Regions from separate parts of the Homo sapiens genome. Here region 2 is linked to region 1. Evidence: promoter capture Hi-C in human tissues and cell types (Jung and others, 2019). All regions are on one chromosome and are shown on one strand. Each heading gives the region's core, a stretch centred on a gene start or on the middle of the fragment in contact. The rest is flanking DNA. Distances are from core to core; before and after follow the strand shown. Region 1 holds the start of ZNF662 (zinc finger protein 662). Region 2 has its middle 55 kb from the start of TOPAZ1.

Region 1 (3,827 bases), core at 546-3,045:
GGGGGTGCCTGTGGGGATTCTGGATTCTGAATGTCTACAGGAACTCTATCAGCAGAAGATTTTTGCCTCCTATGTACAAAGAGACAAGGCATCAGCCATCAATTTTCTCATGTCTCTTCATCTTTATTTCAGCAAACATTTTCTCCTCTTTTTCATGAGTCTGCAAAAGTTTTCTTGTTTCATCCTTATACCCCAAACCACATCTGTGCTCTAGGTCCCATCCTCTCTCCACAATGTGTCCTCCTTCAGAGGTCACCCACCCTTGATAACAACTATCATTTATTAAGCCTGTGCCAAGCACTTGACATATATTCTTTGTTATGTCTCATAGCCTACTATCAGATCCGTTTTTTAGAAGAGGAAACTGAGACTCGGAGGGATTAACTTCCCCCAAAGTTCCAGAACTGAGACAGAACCCAGGCCTGTTTGACTCTGGCTCTTGCCTGTTATGCCACACTGCCTTCCGTCCCCATTCCTGCCATCCCTGCTGCCCCTGTATAGGACTCTTCCTCCTTTGTCCTCCCCAGTCACTGCCACCAGCCACAGAGGCAGCTAGGGCTCCTCAGAACATTCAGGTTGCTCTGAACACTGTACTCAACAGGGCAGATCCTCGTTGTGACTTTACTCCCTGCACCCCCACCACCCGCAACACTCTCACAAAGATCCCACCTCACTTGCTTACCCACGTCCCAATCTCCATGTCCCCATTTTCTATATCTCTAGGAGTCTCAGCTCCTGCACCTTCTTTCTCTCATCCTCTTAAGAAACAAATACTGCTGACCTCCAGCCGTTGGGACTTCCCGTAATTCTCAGCCACTGCCTCCTTCAGGGTCTCAGTCTCCACACTGTGGAGGAGCCCATTCTGGTCCACTGCACTTCAGTCCTTGCGCACTAGAAAGTCTCCACAGCTATTTATCCAGCACTCCAGGGCTCCAAGGCTTTGGCTGGCTCAACTTTGTCTGCCTAATAGAGTCCACATTCCTCTGCACTACAGACAATTCCATTCACTACTCACAGACCCAGCTTTCCTGGCCAGGATCATCAGCCACCACCACTCTCATCTCCGATCCTCTCACCATTGCATTGGGAAACCAAACTCTTTCCTCACCCTGTTCTGTGTCCTTGCACCTGCGGCTACTCTTGCCTGAATATCCAGTTCTTCCTTCCTGCTCCTGCATTGCAAATTCCTTTTCAACCTAATACCCAGCTCAAACATAACCAGCTCTGTAAAGGCAGCTCTGAAATTCTGGCCATTCATCGCCCCCGACAGCACTCTGTGCGCTCTGCCCCAGCAGTCGGCTCAACCCCGTGCCGCTGCACGTCTGCTCTCCTTGAGGCTCAGGTCCAGGGGTGTCGACTCCGCTGTGCTGCCTGTCCCTCGAGGCCCCTCACTCTGGGTTGTACCCCCATTTCCCAGCCGCCGCACCACCCCGTCTCCGGGCCTAGAACCCAGGGCAGGGCCAAGACTGCTTCCAGGCTCCGGCCCCGCACTCACCCGGCGCGCCCGGGGCAGCGCGGGCTGTCCCGGGAGCAGCTCGAGGACAAGGCCGAGGCGTGTCCCGCTCGCCAGCGCCACGGCCGCCATAGCCCAGGTCGCCCTCTGGGAAAGCGAGGGCGCGCCAGACCGGACCAGAGGCTGTTGGGGTCGCGGAAGAGCGCTCTGCACCTGGGCAGGCCTGACACGGCTACCCTGCGCCCTGCAGCCACCGGAGTAAGACCCCGACTCCACTCCCTGCCCGCCCCACGCCCGACTCCCCGTGCTCCACACCCGCCAGGCCCCAGCATCCGGGAGGCCGGGGCTCGGGCCGCTCCGGTTGCTCTAGGACGGCGGAGGGCGCCGCATCTCTGTGGTCCTCCTTTCTCGCTCGGGGAGGGAGGGGAGAGCGGTCCGGTTCTCCTGGAGACACGGACGATCCCAGGGACCGCTACCGGGGTAGGGGTGCAGGCGGCTGGGGAGGAATCCTTCCCCTGCGCTCTAGGCCACCCCTTCCTCTCCAGCTCGCTGCACCCTAGGTGGACAGATATTTGCTGATAGGAGGTAGCGGGTACTTCACTAGACTGCACCTGCTCTTTTATCTCTCCTTTTACCAGTTTTTGCATTCCCAGAGCAGACCTGTATTTTATGTCTTTTAACATTCTCATCTTTGTGCCTCTAACATGCGCCCGATGTCTAGCACCTCCTGGGGAGTTATTTCTTTAACTGCCAAGGAATATTTGTAGAATTGTCCACGAAAAGTCAAACTGTAAAATATTTGAAGGGATTTATCCTGAGCCAAATATGAGTGACCATGGCCCGTGCCACAGCCCCAGGAGATCCTGAGAACATGTGCCCAACGTGGTCGGGCTACAACTTGGTTTTACACATTTTAGGAAGACATAAGACATCAATTAATACATGTAAGATGTACGTTGGTTCGGTATGGAAAGGTGGGACAACTGGAAGAGGAGGCTTTCAGGACATAGGTGGATTCAAAGATTTTCTGAGTGGCAATTGGTTGAAAGAGTTAAGTTATTGTATAAAGACTTAGAATCAATAGAAAGGGATGTCTCAGTTAAGATAAGGGCTTGTGGAGACCAAAGTTTTATCATGCAGATGGAGCCTGTAGCAGGCTTCAGAGAATAGACTGCAAATGTTTCTCATCATTATCACACTACCGGATAGTCTGTGAGACTTAAAGAGGCTGTTCTATCAGTCTTAAGGTCTGTGTTGATGTTAATGCTGGTCAGCTGGTCCTGAATTTCAAAAGGTAGGGGAGCATAATGAGCCATGTCCAACTCCTCCTTCCCATTATGGCCTGAACCAGTTTTTCACGTTAACTTTGGAATGCCCTTAGCCAAGAGGAGAGATCCATTCATATGGTCAGAGGGCTTTGAATTTTATTTTTGGCTTACGGAATAAAAGAATGAATAAATGTTGAACCAGTTTTTCAGTTGAAGAAAGTAAGGCCCAAAGAGAGAAAATGGCTTACCTAACATTATGCAACATGCCAGGAAATTAAATTTTTTAAGAAGTGTGAAAATAAAGATTATTCAAATGAGAACAAAGACTATTATTCAGAGCTTGCTATATATGACAAGAGAGTCAGCCCTCATCACTTGCATTCAGCAGACTGAAAGTCAGGCAGAAGAGTGGGGAAAGCTTCACAGTGGAAAAAAGGAATGGCTTCAGGTATTCCCTTATTGGAAGTTGCTGGCATGGGGAAACTACAGGCGGGCTAACTAGAAGCAGGGAATCTTATGTAATTGGTAGGGGGAAATTTTTGGCTTTCTCTGTTTGGTCCTAAGTTGGAAGTAGTATGGGAAAAAGTAGGGAATCTGATAGTTTTTAATCAAATTGCTACCCCATCTCTACAAAAATAAAAAAAGAAAGAAAGAAAGAAATAAAGAAAAATAGCCAGCTCCTGGCTACTCAGAAGTCTGAGATGGGAGGATCACTTGAGCCTGAGAAGTCAAGGCTGCAGTGAGCTGTGATTGCACCATTGCACTCCAGCAAGAACCTGGAAAGAAGAAAGAGAAGAAGAGAAAAGAGAAGAGAAGGAAAGAGGAAGGAAGGAAAGGAGGGAGGGAAAGAAAGAAAGAGTGGGAGGGAGAGAGGGAAAGAAAGAAGAGACGAAGGAAGGAAGGGAAGGAGGGAAAGAGAGAGAGAGAAAGAAAGAAAAAGAGAGAGAAAGAAAAAGAAAGGAAGGAAGGAGAAGGGAAGAAGGAAGGAAGGAAAAGGAAGGGAGGAAGGAAGGAGGGAAGGAAGGAGGGAAGGGAGGGAGAGAGGAAGGAAGGAGAAGGGAAGAAGGAAGGAAGGAAAAGGGAGGGAGGAAGGAAGGAAGGAGGGA
Region 2 (3,827 bases), core at 396-2,895, 1.3 Mb before region 1:
TTTAGGTACTGAAAGCAAGACCATAGAGATCTCTCTAAAGAGGGCTGGATTCCAGGCTTTCCCACCCTAGCTTTTCTCCTGGTCTCTAGGGTCTCTGGGTTACACCCATAGCTTTTGTAGACCACAGATAACAATGGTAGGTAGGTAGAGATGAAGCACTTTGGGTTAACCCAACACTCCAGTTTATAATGATTTCTGGCTTGTCCTCATAGTGAATGTGGAGCTAAGTGATTAACAGCTACTTTGAAAATCAGCACCAAGATACTCAATTCTTAAATGACAAGGGGGCAGATGCTAAGGCTCTAGGCTCTAAAAAAAACAGCAAATGTTCCCCTTCTGTGGGGGGAAAAAGAGTGAGGAAAGAAGTAGCTTGCAAAGGTTTGCTAGTTTTGAAGATTAGCTTTTACCTTACATCACCCAACTCAAATTCCTGTGCTGCCCAGCCTGTGGGTAGGGCTTTGGCTTGAAGCTGCCAGATTACCTGGGAACTCTTAGCTTCTCAGCTGCTGTAAGCTGTGATGGCAGAACTCCCTCTTCTGACATATGATTTCTGTGCAAAGTTTGTTCTGTAATGCCTAGGAGTGCCTAGTACGGAGTGTGGCTCAGCACCTCTGACTATTCACTTGACTCCTGTCTCCTGAATCAGTTCCTCCGGCAAAGGGTTGGTGGCATCATTTGACAGAAAAAGGGCAAAGCTTCTGTACTTTGCTCCTGACCAGTCATCTAATTCTTAATTTACTAGGTTCAGTATCGCCTTCATATGTTGATGTGGGGGTGAATTCATTTTCTATTGCTATGTTATAAATTACCCCATAGCAGCTTAAAACATCAAACATTTATTATCTCACAGAGCTTTTGTGGGTCAGGAATCTGGGAGTGGCTTAGCCATTGGGCTCTGGCTCAGAGATTTTCATGAGCCTGCAGCCACACTGTCACCTGGCACTGTACTCATCTAAAGCCTGAAGTGAGAATGGAGTCTGCTTCCGAGTTCACTCACCTCGGCATTAGCTAGGCCTCAGTTACTTGCAGGCGGTTGGACTGCAGGCCTCAACTCCTCACTTGTTGTTGTCTGGAGGCTTCGGTTCTTTACCACTGGAGCCTATCCAGAGCTGTTGACTACATGGAAGCTTGCTTCTCCCAGAGGAATTGATTCAAGAAAAAGAGTGAGGGACAGAAGCCAGTCTTTTTATAACCTAGTCCCTTCTGCCATATGCTGTCAGACACAGGCCAATCCTGGTACAGTGTGGGAGGGGATTTTGCAAGGGTGTGAATACCAGGAGGTGGGGATTGTTGGGGACCATCGTAGAGACTGCCATCCACAGTGGCCATTGGAAGAAGAGCTTAGAATCAAATTCAGACACTGCTGTTGACCTGTCTTCATCTTTGGTGGCTCTCTAAAGTAGCCAGTGTGAATCTCAGTCTACAAACCCAGGTGTATAAAAATGAAACAGCTTTCATTTTGAGCCTTCCCGCCACTGGGCTTTAGGAAACTGTAACTTCCCTTTTTCTTGGGGGAGCCAAGGTATTGGGAGGGCTCTCCCTGGCTATGAGCATTTGTTAACCCATTTTCCTACTGTGATATCTAGTGTCCTGGGGGCTTTCTTCTGCTTTCAGGCTGTAGCTGGGAATTTATCAGCACAGCCATGTAGTATCTCATCTGCCTGGATGTTCCACAGCCCTTTCCTTTCTGAGGTCTGGCTGCTTCTCAGGTGGTTTTTCCTGGGAAATGGGAAACAGGTTGCCTCCACCATGGGACCCCCAGCCATCTTTGCTTGTTTTTACTTCCACATCCCAGAAAAACTCTTTTTAGGCTATTTCCTTCATTTTTCTGACCAAAATGTCTTTCTTGAGAATTCTACCCTGACCCCAGGGGATTTAAACTTTAGAAACAAGCCCTGTAGAGTCCTAGGTTACTGTGACTTCTGTCTTGAGGCAATGAACACAGGACTGCCTACGTTCTTGAAAGGCCAAAACACAGGAAGAAAAGAAGATGAAATATCCTGCCATGCCAGTGTGCTTTCTGTCCTTCAGGTGGCTGGACTGCACATTGCCTGGAGTCTCACCATCACGCCTTTGCTGTGCTGGCCCCAGGTTTGGCAGGCATATACACACCTGCCTGCAGCTCTGAGTCATGTGCTTCAGTCCCTCTCTTGATCTTGAGACTTGTCTCCTTTCTGACACCTTTATTCCCTGACCTCAAGCTCCAGAGATCATCATTCCTCATCCAGCATTTTATAGAACTCCCTTTCCCTCATTGCTTATTCTCTTTAACCTGCTCAGCATCAATTCAGAGATCACAAATTGACAGCCTATTTGCTGAATCTGTCCTGAAGATATAGTTTGACCCATGAAACTTCTTGTTTTTAATTTGAATTCATTGTCAGCATTTAACAACGGGCATTTCACATAAACTTGGGCTTCTGGTTTGCACTGAAAAGTCATATCTAGGAACAACAGACCCACATTCCCATGGAACAATAGTTGGCTGGTGCTGCAGCAGCCACCTTCCTTAGGTGGGTCCCGCTGTCTCCAGCTTGGCACTGTCTGCACCTGCCTGCTTTGCTCTTCTACCTGCTAGACCTGAGTCTGAGCCCCTTGCTCTAGTTTCTTGTGTAGTCACCTTGCCTCTTACAGGCTGATTGTCCTGGATGCTGCCCCTTTCAATATAATGATTGCCTTACATTGGGCTAAACTGGATACAAAGAGAAGGAAGTGAAAACCATGTCATCTACGTAATAAAAACTAGAAAGGGCATTAAAAAGCAATTGGCCCTGTCAGCTAATTTCATCTAGAAATTTTCTGCTAGAAGTTCAATTTACTCTCCAATATTTATCTGATTTAGGGAAGCAAGTACAAAAGCCCTGGGGCAAGGGTGTAGGAGGGGGCAAAGTAAACAAGAGAGAAAGTAGTAGGAGATGAGACCAGGGAGTTCACAGGAGGCTAGGGTGTGACTGCGCAGGTGAAAGGAAATGGTCGGGTTCTGGTTTGCCAAGAGATTGGCATTTCCATGGGCTCCATCAAAATGAGGTCTCCCAATCCATTCTGCACTATGGGGCTGAACGGGACTCCTGAAGCTCACTTTTGAGAACACTCGCAGGAGAAGATGTAAGCCCACCTTTGATTTCCCATGCTTCCCAGTCACCCTTTTGCAGAACCTGTGATCTGAAGACTCAGTAAGCTGAGCAGCATGCCTGAAGTCATAGTCAGCAAGTCCAGGTTTAGGCCTTGGCATCCAGAATACAGAATTTCTGGATTCTCCAGGGATGACCTTTGCCCCAGAAGCTGCCCAGGATCATTAGAGAATTGCAAGACCTCTGGGAGTTCTCTCCGTGGAGTGGAGTCTTTCCCTATCTCTCTCTGGCTGTTCAGGGCAACCCGGCAATTGTATAACCCATTTTCTTGACTCATAGCCCTAAATTTCCTTCTGCCCAGTTCTTTCTGTACCTCCTAGTTTCTCCTCGTGACATCCCTGTGTCTAGAATGGCTCCAGTATGAGCAGATTTGGCTTTGGAGGCTGTTTTGCAAACCAAAATGAAGAGCCTGCTTTCACGTGGCTTGCAGGAACACCCTGCGAGTGAGCTTCAGCAGCAGCAGTTGCTTCATTCAATCCTAGGATACAACAAATGCTCCAAACAGGGCCACACATGCCTAGAAGTACAGCCCGTTTCTCAGAGCCACCCAGCAAGCGGCCATTTAATCTCAATTGCTCCCCAACAGTGTGTGCCAATTAAAGAGGAAGCCAGCAGGGCAAGGATCACTGGCGAATCTTTTGAGGGAAGGAGACCCCAGGGCTGCCTAGCCAAAGGCTCTCCCCCTCCATTCACACA

Evidence for each region. Contacts are between HindIII fragments. The study calls those that stand out against the background at their distance.
Region 2: a fragment that was not itself captured here is called in contact with the fragment with the promoter of ZNF662 in region 1 in 1 of the 25 tissues and cell types used here (spleen).

Annotation. Positions count from the first base shown.
Region 1 is chr3:42,904,110-42,907,936 of GRCh38, reverse strand. It overlaps ZNF662 (zinc finger protein 662), which reads right to left and starts at 1,795. Exons shown (of 5, transcript NM_207404.4): 1 at 1,769-1,795. The HindIII fragment of the contact is 13,922 bases long and covers 1-3,827 here.
Region 2 is chr3:44,184,560-44,188,386 of GRCh38, reverse strand. No RefSeq gene overlaps it. Among named protein-coding and RNA genes, the nearest start is that of TOPAZ1, 55 kb to the left of the region's middle. The HindIII fragment of the contact is 3,523 bases long and covers 1-3,406 here.